Regions from separate parts of the Homo sapiens genome. Here regions 2, 3, 4, 5, 6 and 7 are each linked to region 1. Evidence: promoter capture Hi-C in human tissues and cell types (Jung and others, 2019). All regions are on one chromosome and are shown on one strand. The core of a region is centred on a gene start or on the middle of the fragment in contact, and the rest is flanking DNA. Distances in the headings are between cores, read along the strand shown.

Region 1 (2,700 bases), core at 170-2,669:
CTTCAAAGCTAAGAAGACTGTGCTGCGTGTAGTGCATTGTAGTTGTGGCAGTCTGTTCTAAATACAGGCAGTATCTGTGATACTGGCACGGCAGGCCTTTAGAATTCCCTCCGGCTGATCTCTTAAACACAGACTGAAGAGATTTTTTTACAACGACCTTGAAACGAGCCTCGAAAACAAAAATCTCAAGACCTTAAGAGAAAACAAAACACAAACAGGTATTTGGCTCACAGAATTTTGTAGAAAACACACACATACCACCCCGCCACCCCCACCCTCCCCCCCACACACACGTTTCTTGCAACAAGAAATTTCCCAAGAGTCAACAATAACAGATTAAACCCACCACTTGCTGTCCTGGAAAGAAACAAACCAAACCAAAACAAATCCTTTGAACATTTCTCTGAAGTGCAGGAGAGACACACTTCAGCAAAAGTCCAAGGGGGAAAAAGAAAATTGCACCAAAGGAAAAAAAAAAAAAAAAAGTGGGGGCTGGGATTGTTACATATGGCCAAAAATTTAAGCTTCTTTCAATAGTATTAGTATTGAAATAATACATCTTTAAAACGCTTGAGGGATTAGATAGGGAAAGAAAAGGCACGTACAAAAAAATCCAACCGATGCCGATCCTGTGATTTACGTAACACCACAAACTTGCAAAAGGCAAAAAATCAGAAGCAAAAATCCATAAACCATCAAAATACAGAAACCAAAAATCCCAAGCCACCACACCAGAAAGAAAAAAACCCAGAACAACAGCAAAAACCCCTGTCCTAAATAAAAATAAAGCAAATGAACCCACCGAAAACTGCTTGGCAAATATTTTTCTCGTGGTGCCTAATATTCTAGTTGGAAAGAGCTGTGATGTTTATTTTATTTTATTTTTCTCTTACTCGCCTCTCTAACCCTACTATATATATAACATACTTTTCCCAGTGGTTCAAACCTCTCGCTCCCTTTTGTGCATTTAGCTCGATCTGCTGAGTTTATGGGTAAGAAAGAAGGAATTAGCCCCAGACCCCGGGAAAGCAAAGCGCACTCCCCCTCTTATGTCACCGAATAGCAAATTAGTTCTCAGAATTCCAGAGGCCGAGCTTTGCTACAGCGAAGGCGCCGACGTCACAGAGGAGGAGCCCACGTGATGGTGGCGGAGCAGGCCATACCATCGTCTTGGGCCCGGGGAGGGAGAGCCACCTTCAGGCCCCTCGAGCCTCGAACCGGAACCTCCAAATCCGAGACGCTCTGCTTATGAGGACCTCGAAATATGCCGGCCAGTGAAAAAATCTTGTGGCTTTGAGGGCTTTTGGTTGGCCAGGGGCAGTAAAAATCTCGGAGAGCTGACACCAAGTCCTCCCCTGCCACGTAGCAGTGGTAAAGTCCGAAGCTCAAATTCCGAGAATTGAGCTCTGTTGATTCTTAGAACTGGGGTTCTTAGAAGTGGTGATGCAAGAAGTTTCTAGGAAAGGCCGGACACCAGGTGATTATTGCTGTTGCTGCCGCCGCTGCTGCTGCTACTGCCGCCGCCGCCGCTGTTGCCGCTGGTGCCGCTGCCGCCGCCGCTGCTCATGATCATTATTTTACCTTTTAATTCTTTTTTTTTCCGCTCTTGCCAAATGCTTTGGCTCCAAGTTTTCTATGTGTATCTATTGATATAAATGTATATATTTATTTATTCTAGCTGTCAGGTGTTAAAATAAATGCCGAAGATTAGTCCCACGTCTCTCCCACCATAGGATATAGATTGTTATGTATTTATTATTATTATTGTTGTCTTTGAGTGAATCGGCCGGTTTGGGGAGGCTTTTGCCACCCTCCCTTGTGTTGTTTTGGTTTTTGGAAAGGAGGTGGAGGAGAGGAAGGAGGGGAATTAGGGGGCGGCCGGAGCAGAGAGGACGAGACAGTGCTTGGGGGGTGATTCGGGCTAGTCTGGGGGCTGTCTGGCCCCAGACCGCGGAGAGGACGCGCGCTCGCGCTCTCGCTCTTTCTGCTGCTGCTTGCGTACGGCTTGTGATCTCTCTGGATTCGTGCGGCTGTGTTTTTTCCCTCTTTTCTCGCTTGCAAACTGCTTTCCTTGCTCCGTCGCTCCTGGCCTCCGCTTCCCTCCCTCCTCTTTTTCCTCGCCTCTTCTTCCTTCCCTTCCCCTGTCCTTCTGGGTAACTCCGGGAGGCAAAAAGGGAGGCTGCCCGCTCGCTCGCCCCGCTGGCTCTCTTCCATCGGCCTCGGTCTTTTAGATTCCCTGCCTTCGAGCCGAACCGAGATTTGGAAGGAAAAAATGCAAGCGAACTCTTTGGGTTTTTGTTTTTGTTTTTTTGGTCATAAATCCAGATGAGATGAAGTATCGTGTCTACTATTTCCTTTCAGAGCCGTGATCTTCCTAATGAGAGCCGAGTGTTTTGGTGTTCCCTGCCCCTGTGTTTTGGGGAGCTTGGGGGCGGGGATGTTGAACACTTTGAAAATTATTCTTTCTTGGTTGTAGTCGAGGGAGTCGGGAACCTCCGCGCGCTCTCCCTGCTCATCCCGAGGAGAGAGACTGATGGCGGGACAGGGCTTCTTGGGGTGGGTGGGAAAGGGGTGCGCACTGCACCTGCGATGCCTTTCAGTGTGCGGGGGGACTCAGGGAACCTCGACAGGACAGCCTGGGAGAACGAGAAAGGTGGCGGGATTTCTGGCCGCTGCGGTGTTTGTATTTTGGGCGCTGCG
Region 2 (2,700 bases), core at 32-2,531, 1.5 Mb before region 1:
ACCACACTTATAACAGTGATTAGGACACACTGACAGACGCGAAGCCAGCAGAATTGGCCCGGGCCACGAGCCGGTTTCACCCAGAGCAGAAGCCCTTTCAAGCTCTCATTTCAGGAAGAGGTGCCAAATTAGAGCTCTGAGGGCATGGAGCAGCAACTTCTTGGCCTTTGGATCCGAGAAAGCAAGGTTGAGATAATAGAATGATGTCTGCGATGCCCTCCTTCCTCCCTCCACCTGCTGACACTAAGTCAACAGGAGGCAGATGGTAGTTGCTGCTTTCACCAGCATCTCTCCAAAAGGATGTGTAAAGGCCAAAGAAAGCAGTTTCCTGGACCTGGCTTCTGCAGCATGGCCTATCCCTTCTATGTTGCAGAATGCAAATTTAAATAGCATGGAGAGATACATGTGCGATGCCTTCTCTTGCAGGGAGATATTTCTTGGCCTGACCTCCCTGCTTAGCTTTTGTTGGCATATCAATGTGACAGCAACAATATTTTCCAGCAGAAAACCTCTTTAGAGATATTTTTTCACAGGAGGAATTGATAAGGTAAAATCATTTAGCCCTCTAAGATGAATGGCTTTTGGAAAATTGCTACACTAATATAGTACTACAAGGGTATAGGATTCAATACAAAGAAAAATTAGAGATTTTAGAAATTTAGCAAGAGGAGATTCAGCAAGGGGAGGGGACTTATATCAGGAAAATGTATCAGGACCCAGGTCCCTGAATCCTAAACCAAGGTCTTTCTACCAAAACTATTAAAGATGCTTGCGTAATTCAAATGCTTACTATATACCAAATGTTCTTCTAAGCATTTTACCCATATTATCTCATGGAACCCTCAACACAGACCAATAAGAGAGATACTATTATCCAACCCTCCCCTCCTCCCTCCAGTTTACAAATGGGAAGACCGACGCATGGATTGTTAAGTAACTTGCTCCAGGTCACCCAGAGGGAAATCTGGATTGACTCCCTGTCAGCCCGACTTCAGAACAAGGTCTTTAAGCCTTAAACTGTCTATATTCTATCTCCTCATTAGAGTTCAGATGAGAATATGGGGAAAGAAATGGGGCTTAGTGACCATCAAAAATTACAATGCATTTGAGAACAAGTAAGAATTAGGCACATGACAAAGGCAGAGGAGGAGGTGAAATCAGAGAATTTCATGTTTCAGATGCTACCATCATCTGTTTCCACGATTGCATACAAGTCACTCAACCACTCAGAATTGCAGTTCCTTCACTGTTGTTTCTTATGGGCATAAAAAACAAATAGGCCAGACATGGTGGTTTGCACCTATAATCCCAGCAGTCTGGGAGGCCCAGGCGGGTGGATCACTTGAGATCAGGAGTTTGAGACCAGCCTGGCCAACGTGCTGAAACCCCGTCTCTACCAAAAATACAAAAAATTATCAGGGTGTGGTGGCAGACACCTGTAATCCCAGCTACTTGGGAGGCTGAGGCAGGAGAGTCACTTGAACCCAGGAGGTGGGGGTTGGTTGCAGTGAGCCGAGATCACACTACTGCATTCCAGCCTGGGCAACAGAGCAAGACTTCGTAAAAAAAAAAAAAAAAAAAAAAAGGGATTCCTGGGCAAGATGGCTGAACAGGAATAGCTCCAGCCTGCAGCTCCCAGCAAGATCAACACAGAAGGGGTGATTTCTGCATTTCCAACTGAGGTACCCAGTTCATCTCATTGGGACTGATTAGACAGTGGGTACAGCCCACAGAGGGCAAGCAGAAGCAGGGTGGGGTGTCGCCTCACCTGGGAAGCCCAAGGGGTCAGGGAACTCCCTCCCCTAGCCAAGGGAAGCCATGAAGGACTGTGCCATGAGGGATGGTGCATTCTGGCCTAGACACTACGCTTTCCCCACGATCTTCACAACCCACAGACCAGGAGATTCTCTCAGGTGCCTACACCACCAGAGCCCTGGGTTTCAAGCACAAAACTGGGAGGCCATCTGGGCAGACACCAAGCTAGCTGCAGGAGTTTTTTTCATACCCCATTGGTCCCTGGAACACAGCAAGACAGAACTGTTCACTCTAGAAAGAGGGCTGAAGCCAGGGAGCCAAGTGGTCTTCCTCAGTGGATCCCACCCGCATGGAGCCCAGCAAGCTAAGATCCACTGGCTTGAAATTCTCGCTGCCAACACAGCAGTCTGAAGTCGACCTGGGACACTGAGCTTGGTTGGGGGAGGGGCGTCCACCATTACTAAGGCTTGAGTAGGCAGTTTTCCCCTCACAGTGTAAACAAAGCCACTGGGAAGTTCGGACTGGATGGAGCCCACTGCAGCGCCGCAAAACTGCTGTAGCCAGACTGCCTCTCTAGATTCCTCCTCTCTGGGCAGGGCATCTCCGAAAGAAAGGCAGCAGCCCCAATCAGGGGCTTATAGATAAATCTTTCATCTGCCTGGGACAGAGCACCTGGGGGAAGGGGCGGCTGTGGGCACAGTTTCAGCAGACTTGAACATTCCTGCCTGCCAGCTCTGACGAGAGCAGCATATCTCCCAGCACAGTGCTTGAGCTCTGCCAAGGGACACACTGCCTCCTCAAGTCAGTCCCTGACCCCCATGCCTCCTGATGGGGAGACACGTCCAGCAGGGGTCAACAGACACCTCAAACACAAGAGCTCTGGCTAGCATCTGGTTGGTGCCTCTCTGGGACAAAGCTTCCAGAGGAAGGAGCAGGCAGCAATCT
Region 3 (2,700 bases), core at 143-2,642, 1.3 Mb before region 1:
GAAACTCTAGAAAAGATAAATCTAATCCATAGTGGCAGAAAGCATATCAATGACTAACGGGGTATTGGAAAGAGGTGGAGGGTGTGGAGAGCATTGTATAGGAAATGACACAGGCTATTACTATGTGATGGAAATGTCCTATATCTCAATTGTGGTGGTAATTAAGTGGTTGTATATATTTGTCACGATTCATCAAAATATATACTTAAAATGGGTACATGATATTATATACAAATGATATTTCAATAAAGTTGATTTCAAAATGCATCTGTCACATATACAAAGTAACTGCTAGAACAATAAAACTCAAATGCACTGTTTACAAACCACTGGAAGAAGAAAGGGGGTGGAGAGAACAAATACAAGTGGAAAGAAAAAAGCCACATAATGATAGTTGACATTTATTTCATACACACTCTTTCTCAGGCAAAGTTTTAAATATTTTACATGTAATCATTTCCTTAATCCCTACAATAAGTCAATGAATTGAGCATAATTATAATCATTCTCATTTAATTTATGAAGAAACTGAGGCATAGAAAATATATGTAATTTAAGCAAGGTCAAATATCTACTATGGTAGAACTGGGTTTCCCAGTCAGAGCAAATAACATTCTTTTACACTGCTTCTTGTCATTAAGTTAAAAACATAAATGCATGAAACAATTGCAAAACGTCATTAATCAAAGCAAAGACTTTGGAATAAATTTCCCTATTATAAGTCAGAGACAAAGATTTGTTAAAGAAAAGAATAAAGCTTAGCAATAAGTTATTATAAAAGATATACCTAAAACAGAAAGATCCAGAAAAGATAAAAATGAAAACATTAAAGAGATACATAGGGTAAATGTTGAAAATAGTAGATATATTAACGTTAATATAAAAGGCAGAACTCAAGGGGAAAAGTTTTTTAAATATCAAAGAATTGTTTAAATTGATAAAAGGTATGATTAAGAGAATAAAGCTGTCATTAACCTTCTATATACCTAATTAAAATGGATGCAAAATATCTAAATAAAAAACTATGATAAAGCAAAAACAATGAAATATCTTAATATATCTTTCTCAATAATCGTCATCCTAAGTAGATCAAAAGCAAATACAGATCTGAATAATTTAATTAACAATATATATTTTTTCCACTTTGCATATCTATAAACACTGACCTATTATCAGCCTGCTATGAAGCAAAAATTACGTATAGATCAGAGATTCTGATCTTAAAGCAGTACAGTTAGAAATTAACGACAAACATTATCCATCCTCTCCAAAAAATGACAATCCACCTGAAAATATTGAAACATTTTAAATAATAATTGTGGTCAAAATCCATTTAGAAATAAATGACAATAAGAATACTATGCGTCAAAATTTGGGGGATGTAGCTTTGTATTAAAGTAATATTCAGAAGAATCCGTATGTTCTTAAATGCATTTACTATCAAACAGGAAATACTGAAAATAAATTAAATATGAATTCAATTTAAAATACTATATAAAATAACAATGAAATAAATCCAATGGCTATTGAAAAGTAATACATAGAAAATAAGTATTAATAAAATAATAGATTTTAGGATTAATCAATTACCCCAATAGCTGCTTCCTTGAAAAGACTAATTATATAGATAAACTCCTGGAAAAATCTCATAAAAAAAAGAAGACAAACAAAATAAAAAATATTATTATCAGTTGCTATGGTTTAAATGTTTGTCCCCTCCAAAACTCATGTTGAAACTTATTTCCCAATGGGGCAGTATTGAAAGGTGGGACCTTTAAAAGGTGATTTGATTATCAAGGATTAGTCCATTCATGAATTGATGAAATAATAGGTTAATGGGTTAGTGCATTATCATGATAATGGGACTGGTGGCTTTATAAGAAGAGGAAGAGAGACATGAACTAGCTTGCTCAGCCTCCCCACCATGTGATGCTCTGTATAGCCTTGGGACTCTGCAGAGTCCCCACCAGCAAGGAGGGCCTCACCAGATGTGGTTCCTTGACATTGGACTTCTCAGCCTCCATAGCTGTAAGAAATAAATTTCTTATCAATAACCCAGTTCCAGATATTTCATGATAAGCAGTGGAAAATAGACTAAAATACCAATATGGAACAGATTTTGAAAATGTTAAGAGAGAATATTGTTTATAAGTTATGCCAGTAAATTTGAAAATCTAGACAAATTGGATAATATGTCTTAGTTTTAGTAAAGATACAAAATAGACTACAGAAGAATCTTGAAAAACCAGAATAGCCAGTAGTCAGAAGAGAAGATTGAAAAAATAATCAGAGTATTTCTGTTAAAGGAATCCCATGTGATTCTACAGATGAATTCTATTAAATTTTTAAGAAAACATTCCACAGTGTTTTTTGATGGACAGCTTCCCATTTGATTCTGTAACAGTAGAAAATCCTGATATCAAACTATAGACTGTTAGTCCTGTAATCATTCAATTGGACTTAAGAACACAGATGAAAAAAATCCTAAAACAAATGCCTTAGTTGTGCCTTTTGTAAAAAGGTATTAATAGACAGATGATACATAGATAGATAGATAGATAGATAGATAGATAGATAGATAGATAGATATCAATAGATACACATATATCTGACAGAGAGGGAGAGAAACAGAGGAAGAGCATTAGGGCTTGGAGTGACTTCATTGGTAATTTAATCTAATAACTTGCTTTTTTAAAAAGT
Region 4 (2,700 bases), core at 135-2,634, 1.3 Mb before region 1:
ATCACCAGAATATGAATTTCCTGAGAAATCCTAGGACATGGCACACTGTAAGTTCTCAATAGTAAATACTTGATGAAATAATGAATAATGAGGGAACGAAAAAAAATGGCCACTACGTCAGTTCTCAGGAATCGGTAATAAGTTTTTCCTTCACATCAAGGCATAAGAGGGAATGCATGCTCACTGTTCACAATGCTATTGCTTTTAAGCCTTCCAACACACTTCCATCTGGCCCTGATTTTCCATTTTTCCAATTTGGAACAACTTTTCCTATCCATTGGAATCACTTCCTTTCTTATGTTTACAAAACATATGATTTGGGGATTTTGCATAATTCATCCAAAACATAGACTAACTCAAACTGAGTCCAAATACCATCCACCAAGCAGCACGGAATACAGCATTGGATACATAAAAACATAATTTTGTATGCCTTTGAAAACCTAGTGAAGAAATTCAACCTAGCCATATTTTAATCACAATAATATTGCCCCTGTGGGCTTGTCTTGCATACACCATGCGTGTATTTATATTTCTACATAGACTTTATGGTGTTTTGGTTCATTACAGTCTGGTTGTTCAAGTTGAATGCAGAAAAATGAGATTTTCAGCATAGTTCTGACTTTCTATTTACATACCTTACTTAGTCCAGATGTAAACTTTTAGAACAGCTGCATCTTTTAGAAGCAAAGGATTTATTGATTGCTTGTAGGCATTCTGAATACTGGTGGGGTATTTTGGTTTCTTTTGGCAGGGTCAGAGTGAGGCAGGCTGAGTGAAAATCTAATTGTTTACAAAAGTAGGCCTGAGGTACAAATGTAGTAGACACCACAGAAGTTATTAACTGAAAAACTCTTATTTTAAGGTTGGTCAAGGAAAGAAGAAAGTGTTGATTTGGAATTTTTCTCTAGTGCTTTCCCACCTTCACTGCACAAGAAAACAATTGCATAGCATTGCGTGCAAGGTATTTTTCTAAGCACCCTACAGATATTGACTCATCTAATACTGTTAACACATTGATCAGCACATTTTACTTACAAAAAATCAAAAGCTCAGAAAAATAAAGACATTTTTCTAAAGTTATTGATATATATAAGTGGCACAAGTCATGTTTAAGACCTGACAGCCTGGGTGTGGAGTCAATGCTCTCAACAAACACGCCATGTTGCCTCCTACCTGGGCTCCTTGCCTCCATCTTACTCCTTCGTCTTTCAATCCATCCTTCGCCAATGTGACTGTCTATAGCACAGCTTCGTTCCATGTTATTCTTCAGCTCAAAACTCATTAGTGTCTCTTAGCTGTCCTCCCAAATCAAGTGATGCATCCCCATTCTGCTTTTCCAAGACTCTACAACTTCACCTCAATATGTCTTTTCTAACTAATATTCTAAATCTCTCCCTGCACAAATCTTATGTTCCAGCTAAGCTTAAACCCTACTTGCCATTCCCAAAACATGGTTTTGATTTTTCCATCTCAATGTTCTCGTCCATGTGGAAAGAAAAAACTTCCCCAATACCAGGGCTAGTATAAACCTCACCTGCCCAGCAATGTGCAAAAATCACTTGCTCCCTGTTATAGACTGAATTGTGTGGCCCCAAAGTTCATATGTCAAAATCCAACCCCCAATGTGACAGTATTTGGATTTAGATCTTTAAAGAGGTCTAAGGTTAAATGAGATCTGAAGGCTGGCTCCCTAATCTGATAGGACTGATGTCCTTATAAGAAGAAGAAGAGACACCAGAGCTCACTCTCTCTCTCTGTCGTTTTCTCACTGTCTCTCTCTCTCCACAGAGAAAAGACCACATGAGGACAAAGTGAGGAGGAGGCAGTTGTCAAGTCAGGAAGAGAGGCCCCATCAGAAACCAACCCTGTTAGCATCATAATTTCAGTCTCCAAAATAGTGAGAAAAAAAATGTCTGTTAAGACACCCAATCTGTGGCATTTTGTTGTGGCAGCTCGAGCTAACTAATACACTCTCCCTCACTCCTTAGAATAGGGATTCTCAACCTTGTGTTCAATGACTGTGAAGCCTATAAATTTTGGTGATGCACTAATAAGGGCCTAAAAATATTTTAAAAAACTGAAAAAAGTCACGATTAATAACAACACATCTCTTTTGAGGAAGAACTGTATCTCTGAATGTTTAAAAATCATCCACCATTTTGCACTTTTTCTGGATCACTGTTCAACATGAAGTTATTATTTTTTTCACTGTAGATATGTCAACTGATTTGTTAATGCTTTCTTAGATACTCAAAAGACAACATTCTCTTATACCCTAGAGAATATTCCAGAAAGCAGGCACATGCTTGATTATTCCATGTCTCTTTCCTCTCAGTGTCAGCAAGTTACTCCTTGTTTTTCCCCTTATTTCAGAGGACATGTCAACCATTAGAGTGAATACACTATCATACCACACACAATTCGCTTCAGTATACTGCTCACATTTTATCAGCACCCTTGAGAAGATACATCCACAAGCCAGTTGAGAATTATTAAGGAGGGAGACAAGATGGCTGATTAGAAGCAGTTAACTTGCATGGCACTCAGGGAGAGGAACAAAGGGAGCAAGTAAATACAGCACCTTCAACTGAAATATCCAGGGACTCGCATTGGGACTGATCAGGGAAGCAATTCAATGCAGAGAAAATGGAGAAAAGCAGGGCAGGGCAGTGGCCCACCCAGGAGCAACACGGAGCC
Region 5 (2,700 bases), core at 73-2,572, 1.4 Mb before region 1:
GTCACCGGCAGACTCGGATACCCAATATATGGTCGAATTAAATTGAAAATGACCCTGATCTTTAAAAACCTCAGTAAGATGAAACTATTACCATTGGATTATTTTTTTCTTCCTACCTAAAGTTCTTCTCCTAACAGCTTGAGGCATTTTACATGTCTCATCAGGGAAGAAATTAAAGAAGGAAGAAGAACCTTGACAAAATTTAAACACACAAACGAAGAGCTAGTGATAAATTACAATGCAAATAAGATAGGCTTTTGAAACGCTGAGACACCAAGGAAAGTATCAGGGATACTAGTTAGGATAAAAGGTATTATGCATTTCTCTGTAGGCATGGAGAGTTACTTCCCTAGTTGACTAACTCCCTGGGTGTGCTCGGTCAAGTATACCCTTATGCAAGTTTCCCTCGGTATCCTTTGGCTTCCTTGTCAGCAAATTAAAGCAGTTTGGACGTGCTCAAAGTGAGGTCTCTTCTAGGTTGTCATTCTATGCTACTAAGTATCAAACTGTTATCACCTCCATGTCAGTGTCCCCACTTAAGGATTGATTTTTAAAGTAAGATTACACTCTAGAACCTAAGTTGGCATGGCAACGTAATGAAAACAACAAAACAGTTCAATTCAAAAACTTGAGTTTGGACCATAGGAGTTGAACCAGAGAGGAAGATCCTATGGCACTCATCTATCAACACAGTCCCTTGAATTCCCATTTGAAGACACTGAATGCTCTGTTCTCTTGGAATGTCTGAAGTTTAAAGGGAAATGGTGGCCTCTAAGGCCAAGGCCATGTTATTGAGGGTCTGGAATGCTTAGCCAAGAAGTTTATGTTTAATTTTCATCTTTATTATGTTGTTGGGGACTCTACTCAGTGATTCTGTCTTGACATTTGATGATTTCTTTTGAACTGCGACTGCTCTCTGGGTTTCCAGAGAGCCCAAATCACCTGGGGAGAGGGAGGGAATCTTCCTTTTGTCTGTCTTAGTCCCTGACCAGTTACAGCCCTGCCTCTGTTCCTGTAGCCTAAGAGATTTTCCATATTGGCAACACTCAATGGCCACCTGAATCACACGGTGAGCAGTTTCCACCTCTTGGCAGTAATTTTGGATTCTTTCCCCCTTTCTGCATCTTTGGGGTCCACAGGGGAAAAACTTACTCCACTGTCACACAAATAATAGTCCCACCCCCAGTGCAGTGAGCAGCCTGAATCAAAGACAGGCCCAGAGTCCAGGGCTTATGACTCCAGTATCAGCCTGGATCTTCATGCCAGGGCAGCCTTTAGTGTCCAGAAAGAGCCTCTCACCCCGAAGACAGCATTTGATGCGCAGGTCCCTGGACACCTGCCTGAGAACCTCATATTAAAAATGCACATGCCCAGGCCCCTTGATTTACTGGATTAGAATCTCTGGGGGTAGGCCTAGAAATCTCCATGTCAACAAGCCTTGCCAGATGGCTGTTATGCACATAAAAGTTTGAGAACCAGAGTGTTACAGTTTCTCCATCTATCGTGACAGTCATTTAGAAAACTCCAACCCAGAATAGACTGTACAAAAGCTCAGGGGCAAGAACCTGTAGGGTGAATCAGTCTTGCTGTAAGGAAACAGCAGTAAAACCTGTGTGTCTGGAACACTGGGCGGCAGGCAAAGTTGAGGGTGTGGTAAGGTTAGAAGGCAAGTAATCTGTACATGAATGACCCACGATTCTTTCATTTTTACATTGCTCCTCACTGTATGATATAAACGTTCCTAGGTAAACTCAAAGTTTCATTACCCTCCATCCCAAATCCTCATAGCTGGATATCTGTACTCTTGCTGACTTACTACACATGAAAGAGGTTCTTGCTTAACAACAGTAATAAGGGTAAAAATGCACAGAGATGGGGGCTGGAGCTAGCTACATTGTACAAAGGCCCAGAAAAGAGAAATCGTGGAGGTTTTTGTGAAGGAAAGGAGTTCAGCAAAGCCCATCCCCATTTCCAGGGATACTCTGCCACATGAAGGCTGAGGACAAGCTCCAGCTCCTCAGAGTTTTCTTAAAGCACGTTTGGGACCCCAGGGGGACATGGGAGCTGTGGAGGGAACCTGCCACACAACATGCCATATCCGTTTTCAGAGGATGTCAACACCCTCCTTCCCACACCTGCTGTTCCCAAATATCACAACCTGATTTTTTTCTCCAACCTCCTGTCTTGATGATGATGATTAAATATTCATGGAATGCTGTGATGCCAGCATACTTTGTGAAATTTCAGATACCTTTTTTTTTTAAAAAAAAGGGAAGCTTTTATTTTTTTTTTTAGCTTATTTCAATTTTCAAAAGAGGTAAAAAGAATAACAAATGCAATGACTAGAAAAGTAGATAATGAACAAAGAAGCTAGTATCCTAGGTTTTCACAACTGTGTTTCGAGCCAAAAATTGTCCCAATTTAAGAAAAAAAGTAGGGGCCAGGCTTGGTGGCTCACGCCTGTAATCCCAGTACTTTGGGAGGCCGAGGCGGGTGGATCACCTAAGATCAGGAGTTCAAGACTACCCAGGCCAACATGGTGAAACCCCGTCTCTACAAAAATACAAAAATTAGCCAGGCATGATGGTGGGCACCTGTAGTCCCAGCTGCTCAGGAGGCTAAGGCAGGAGAATCGCTTGAACCTGTAAGGTGGATGTTGCAGTGAGTGGAGATCGCACCACTGCACTCCAGCCTGGGTGA
Region 6 (2,700 bases), core at 41-2,540, 1.4 Mb before region 1:
TGTTTGCTTAGAGATAAGCCCAGTACACTTCCAATGAACAGATCTGAGAACAAAGCCCTTAGTTATAGATGGACTGGACAGGGCTTGGCAGAAATTCTAGTCTTATAGCAAAAGACTACAGCAAGTGATGTGGAGGAGGAAAAGGGAAGGATGGCAGTGACTGTTTTAAACATAGGGCTGGGAGACAGGATAGTAAAGGCAGGCTATCCAGACGAGTGATTCCACACCCATCGGACCTAGAACTTGGGCCCCAACACAAGCCAGGCTCAAAAATGCTGGTCTGAAACAAAACAGAGTAAAATATTTTCCACCTTTACTCTTTCATTGTGCCAAATGGGCTAGAAGTCATAGCATAACTCACCTTTCTCTGAGAAGAGGTCAAAAGAAAATGCCTGGCCAAAGGGAATCCATGTCCCAGCACACATCCCTAAAGGTACTCACGTCTGTTAACTCTCGAATGAATTTTCTGATGTCAGTGTTTCTTGAAATGCATCTGTTCTCTAGTAGAGGTAACATTACTTATATTGCACTGAACAGTTTTTCTTTTTTTCAATTATCTTTTCTTTTTATTTCTTTGACTTCTGCAGAAGTTCAATTCTTGCTTGTTTTCAGTTTTTGAGCTTTCACTCCATTTGGGAGTTCAGCCAATCAGTTGCTGAACCAGACAACTTATTATAACTTCCTCCGTTGGAGCCTGAAATATGTCTTTACTTTTGATTTACATACAACATTGTGGGTGATATATCAAGATTATTCACTACAACTCAAAGACACAAATGTTTCGAGAATTAATTACGTCAACGCTTTCAGAAGATAATGGGTAAGAAGCAATTCAGATAAAAATTGATTCATTTCATGCAATCAATACCTTTATCACAAAATAGACCAGCATATTAGAGAAAGCTTTGGAGTCAGAAGGACTTGAGCTTGAATCTGGGCTCTGCAACTTACCAGCTACCTGAGTTTGAGTGGCAATTTAAACCCCTCAGCCTCAGTTTTCTCAAATGTCAAGTAGATCCACACATCTTACAGGACAGTATAAGAATTAGATGAGGCTGGGCACGGTGGCTTACGCCTGTAATCCCAGCACTTTGGGAGGCCGAGGCAGGTGGATCACGAGGTCAGGAGTTTGAGACCAGCCTGACCAATATGGTGAAACCTGGTGTCTACTAAAAATACAAAAAAAAAAAATAAAAATCAGCTGAGCGTGGTGGCGGGGTCTGTAATCCCAGGTACTCAGGATGCTGAGGCAGAAGAATCGCTTGAACCCAGGAGGCAGAGGTTGCAGTGAGCCAATACCGTGTCACTGCACTCCAGCCTGGGTGACAGAGTGAGACTCCATCTCAAAAAAAACAAAAAACAAACAAAAAAAAGTTAGATGAACTTGGCCGGGGTGGCTCATGCCTGTAATCCCAGCACTTTGGGAGGCTGAGATAGGAGGCTCGCTGGAGCCCAGTGGTTTGAGACCAGCCTGGGCAACATGGCAAAACCCCGTCTCTACCAAAAGTACAAAAAATTAGCCAAGTGTGGTGGTGCGAATCTGTGATCCCAGCTACTCAGGAGGCTGAGGTGAGAGGATCACTTGGGCCTGAGAGGCAAGTGTTGCAGTGAGCCGAAATGGTGCCACTGTGATCCAGGCTGGGTGACAGTGAGACTCCATCTCAAAAAAAAAAAAAAAAAAAAACACTTTAGATGAACAAATGAATCTAAAGGCCTAGAAAATATGATAGGATTTCAAAACAGTTTGAAGTCTAATAATTGACTGAATCTATGCTAGAGGAATCTGAACAATTGTGAGCAGAATATATGAAATCTAGCGATAGTGGGGAATTCCTGAAGAAGTAGGCATCAGGAAATCCAGGTTCAAGTATAATCCATTAATCCATTTCTTCTCTAGCTATCTTTTTTTTTTTCATATGTACTAGGAGAATACTGAACTACTTGCCCCCATCTCAATTTTCTCTCTAATTATGCTGGTCTAGGAATCTACTCAGGTCTGGTGTGGAGCCCTCATTCTAATACAAGATGGAGCTCTTACAGGTCATTTATAAAACAGGTCAAATACCAAATCAATAAGACTAAAAGAGCCGGAATATATTTATTTTTATCATTTTTATCCTACTGTAAGTCAAAAGGTGCTAGTTCATGGTTAAATGTTTGCAGAAAATTGCGTCTTTAAGAGCACCAAGGGTAGGAAATCAGAAAAAACAAGTTACTAGGTTTTTTGTTTTGTTTTGTTTTAATTCAACAAGGAAAAAAACATCGAATGGTAGGGACTTTCTGTCTGGTTTCATTAGCTGTTCCCTCCCAGCAATGAGATCAGCACTTCAGAGAGGACCAGCCTTCGTACCCTGGGCAAATTTCCAGCTAGACATGGTCAATCCAAGAAAAATTCCCCTCTCACCCTCACCAATCACAACATTTCGGGTCATCATTGACTTTTCTCCAGTTTATGAAATAACCCAGTCATAGCTTTCTGGATTTTTTACATAGTGAAAACTTCCATTTAGTGTTTATCTCACATAGAACAAAGATTTTATCTTTGTCTATTGACTATACAACTACAAAGATAAATTTTTAAAAAATAACTTGCTGCCTAAAGCTTAGAGCCTAGTAGAAGCATTAATGACTTAAGGATCAAATTTAAATTGGAAATATTTAAAATTAAAGGTTCTTATTGTATCACATGAGGTATGCACA
Region 7 (2,700 bases), core at 7-2,506, 1.3 Mb before region 1:
ACTTGAAATTATTTCTGTCAGTCGAATTCACTGGACATTCTTCCAAGCAGTGTGTATTTCTTATTGTTTTTCCTTTTTTTCTTTTTTTGAAATGGAGTCTCGCTCTGTCACCAGGCTGGAGTGCAGTGGCGTGATCTCTGCTCACTGCAACCTCCACCTCCCAGGTTCAACCGATTCTCCTGCCTCAGCCTCCCGAGTAGCTGGGACTACAGACACGTGGCACCACCACATCCAGCTAATTTTTGTGTTTTTAGTGGAGACAGGGTTTCACCATGTTGGCCAGGATGGTCTCGATCTCTTGACCTCGTGCTGGTATTACAGGTATGAGCCACCACGCCCAGCCTGTTTTTCCTTTGTATTGTGGAGTAGTATTCCATAGTATGTATGTTCCTCAGTTTGTTTAACTACTTACCTGTTGAAGCACATCTAGGCTATTTCTAGATTGGGGCTATTATGAAGAAAGTTGCTATGAACATGTGTATACATTTTGTGGGAATGTCAGTTGTCATTTCTCTGGACTAAATGCCCAAGACTGAAATTTCTGGGTCATGTGGTATTTGCAAGGGCTTTTCTTTTTTTATTAAACATTTTTGTTTTAGATCATTATACCTTTAGATGCAACTGTAAAAAATAATATAGATAAATACCATGTACCCTTTATCCAGTCTCCCCCAAAAGTAAGATCTTAAACTATCTATCGTACAATATCACAACCAAGATTTTGACATTGATACAGTCAAGATACAGAACAGTTCCATCACCGAAAGAATCTCTCATGTTTCCCTTTTTGCTGTACTCACTGTCGTCTGGCCCACTCCTACCTTTATCCCTGGTAACCATTAACCTGTTCTCCATTTCTAAAAGTATGTATTTTAAAGAAAGTTGTTTAAATGGAATTATAAAATATAACTTCTGGAATTGGCTTTTTTCCTTCAGTCACCATAATTCTCTTAAGATTTATCCAGGCTGTTGTACACATGGGAAGTTAGCGATTTTTTCATTGCTGAGCAGTAATTCATGATATAGATGTAACAATTTGTTTAGCTATTCACCCACTGAGTGACATCTGAATTGTTTCCAGTTTTGGCTATTATGAATAAAGCATCTATAAATATTCATATACAGGTTTTTGTGTAAACATAGGTCTTCATTTCTCTGAATAAATGCCCATCTGGTAACCTTCATTCTACTCTCTACCTTCATGAATCCAATTGTTTTAACGTTTAGCTTCCACAAATGAGTGGAAAATGCTAAGTTTGTCTTTCTGTCCCTTGCTTATTTTACTTAACATAATGTTCTCCAGTTCTCTCCACGTTGTTGCAAATGATGGAAACTTGTCCTCCCTCCTCCCTCCTCCCTCCCTCCCTTCCTTCCTTCCTTTTTCTCTTTTTTGAGACAGAGTTTCGCACTATCATCCGGGCTGGAGTGCAGTGGCACAATCTCGGCTCACCGCAACCTCCGCCTCCCAGGTTTGAGCGATTCTCCTGCCTCAACCTCCTGAGTACCTGGGATTACAGGCGACCGCCACCACGCCTGGCTAATTTTTTATATTTTTAGTAGAGACGGGGTTTCACTATGTTGGCCAGGCTGATCTCAAACGCTTGACCTAGTGATCCACCCACCTTGGCCTCCCAAAGTGCTGGGATTACAGGCGTGAGCCACTGCGTCCAGCCAAGAATCTTGTTCTTTTTTATGGCTGACTAGTACTCTGTTGTGTATATGTACCATCTTTTTTTAATCCATTCATCTGTTGATGGACACTTAGGTTGATTCCAAATCCTGGCTATTGCAAATAGCGCATGTTGTGAGTGCAATTATCTCTTCAACATACGGATTTCATTTCCTTTAGATATCTACCCAGCAGTGGCATTGCTGAATCATCTGGTAGTTTTATTTTTAGTTTTCTGAGGAACCACCATACTGTTCTCTATAGTGGCTCTACTAATTTACATTTCTATCAAATGTGTATGACAGTTACTTTTTCTCCACATTCTTGCCAGCAATTGCCTCTTTTGGATAAAAGTCACTTTAACTGGAGTGAGATGATATCTCACGGTGGTTTTGAATTACATTTCTCTGCTGATAAATGATATTGAGCACCTTTTCATATACCTGTTGGCCATTTGTACGTCTTCATTTGAGAAAAGTCTATTCAGATCTTTTGTCCATTTTCTAATCAGATTATTAGATTTTTCCCTATTGAGTTGTTTGAGCTCCTTTTATATTCTGGATAGTAATCCCTTGTCAGCCAGATAGATTGCAAATATTTTCTCCTGTTCCGTGGGTTGTCTTTTTGTCGATTGTTTCCTTTGTTGTGCAGAAGCTTTTTAACTTGATATGATTCCACATGTCCATTTTTGCTTTGACTACCTGTGCTTATGGGTTGTTACTCAAGAAATCTTTGCCCAGACCAATGTCCTAGAGAGTTTCCCCAATGTTTTCCTTTAGTAGTTTCATAGCTTGAGGTCTTACATTTAAGCCTTCAATCCATTTTGATTTGATTTTTTTTACATATGTGAAGAGATAGGGCTCTAGCTTCATCCTTCTGCATATGGATATCCAGTTTTCCCACCACCACTTACTTAAGAGACTGTCTTTTCCCCCGTGTATTTTCTCGATACCTTTGTTGAGAAAGAGTTCACTGCAGATGTGTGAATTTGTTTCTGGGTTCTCTGTCCTGTTCCATTGATCTATGTTTCT

Evidence for each region. The method cuts DNA at HindIII sites, captures the fragments that hold promoters and counts their contacts. A contact is called where the count stands out against the background at its distance.
Region 2: a fragment that was not itself captured here is called in contact with the fragment with the promoter of BCL6 in region 1 in 1 of the 25 tissues and cell types used here (thymus).
Region 3: a fragment that was not itself captured here is called in contact with the fragment with the promoter of BCL6 in region 1 in 1 of the 25 tissues and cell types used here (lymphoblastoid cells).
Region 4: a contact is called between a fragment that was not itself captured here and the fragment with the promoter of BCL6 in region 1, in 1 of the 25 tissues and cell types used here (liver).
Region 5: a contact is called between a fragment that was not itself captured here and the fragment with the promoter of BCL6 in region 1, in 1 of the 25 tissues and cell types used here (heart right ventricle).
Region 6: a fragment that was not itself captured here is called in contact with the fragment with the promoter of BCL6 in region 1 in 1 of the 25 tissues and cell types used here (heart right ventricle).
Region 7: a fragment that was not itself captured here is called in contact with the fragment with the promoter of BCL6 in region 1 in 1 of the 25 tissues and cell types used here (liver).

What each region holds. Positions count from the first base shown.
Region 1 is chr3:187,744,187-187,746,886 of GRCh38, reverse strand. It overlaps BCL6 (BCL6 transcription repressor), which reads left to right and starts at 1,419. Exons shown (of 10, transcript NM_001706.5): 1 at 1,419-1,477. It overlaps BCL6-AS1 (BCL6 antisense RNA 1), which reads right to left. Exons shown (of 2, transcript NR_173091.1): 2 at 861-1,643. RefSeq lists an enhancer at 1,781-2,306. The HindIII fragment of the contact is 4,851 bases long and covers 68-2,700 here.
Region 2 is chr3:189,258,348-189,261,047 of GRCh38, reverse strand. All of the region lies in intron 4 of TPRG1 (tumor protein p63 regulated 1), which reads right to left. Among named protein-coding and RNA genes, the nearest start is that of TPRG1-AS2, 19 kb to the right of the region's middle. The HindIII fragment of the contact is 8,541 bases long and covers 1-2,700 here.
Region 3 is chr3:189,088,858-189,091,557 of GRCh38, reverse strand. The region is part of intron 2 of LOC107986167 (a long non-coding RNA gene); the gene reads left to right. It also overlaps a transcript of TPRG1 not described here. Among named protein-coding and RNA genes, the nearest start is that of TPRG1, 82 kb to the left of the region's middle. The HindIII fragment of the contact is 4,895 bases long and covers 1-2,700 here.
Region 4 is chr3:189,025,337-189,028,036 of GRCh38, reverse strand. It overlaps a transcript of TPRG1 not described here. Among named protein-coding and RNA genes, the nearest start is that of TPRG1-AS1, 79 kb to the right of the region's middle. The HindIII fragment of the contact is 3,207 bases long and covers 1-2,700 here.
Region 5 is chr3:189,164,200-189,166,899 of GRCh38, reverse strand. It overlaps a transcript of TPRG1 not described here. Among named protein-coding and RNA genes, the nearest start is that of TPRG1, 6.4 kb to the left of the region's middle. RefSeq lists an enhancer at 1-422. The HindIII fragment of the contact is 5,166 bases long and covers 1-2,700 here.
Region 6 is chr3:189,185,970-189,188,669 of GRCh38, reverse strand. The region is part of intron 1 of TPRG1 (tumor protein p63 regulated 1); the gene reads right to left. Among named protein-coding and RNA genes, the nearest start is that of TPRG1, 15 kb to the right of the region's middle. The HindIII fragment of the contact is 6,477 bases long and covers 1-2,700 here.
Region 7 is chr3:189,067,468-189,070,167 of GRCh38, reverse strand. The region is part of intron 4 of LOC107986167 (a long non-coding RNA gene); the gene reads left to right. It also overlaps a transcript of TPRG1 not described here. Among named protein-coding and RNA genes, the nearest start is that of TPRG1, 100 kb to the left of the region's middle. The HindIII fragment of the contact is 9,097 bases long and covers 1-2,700 here.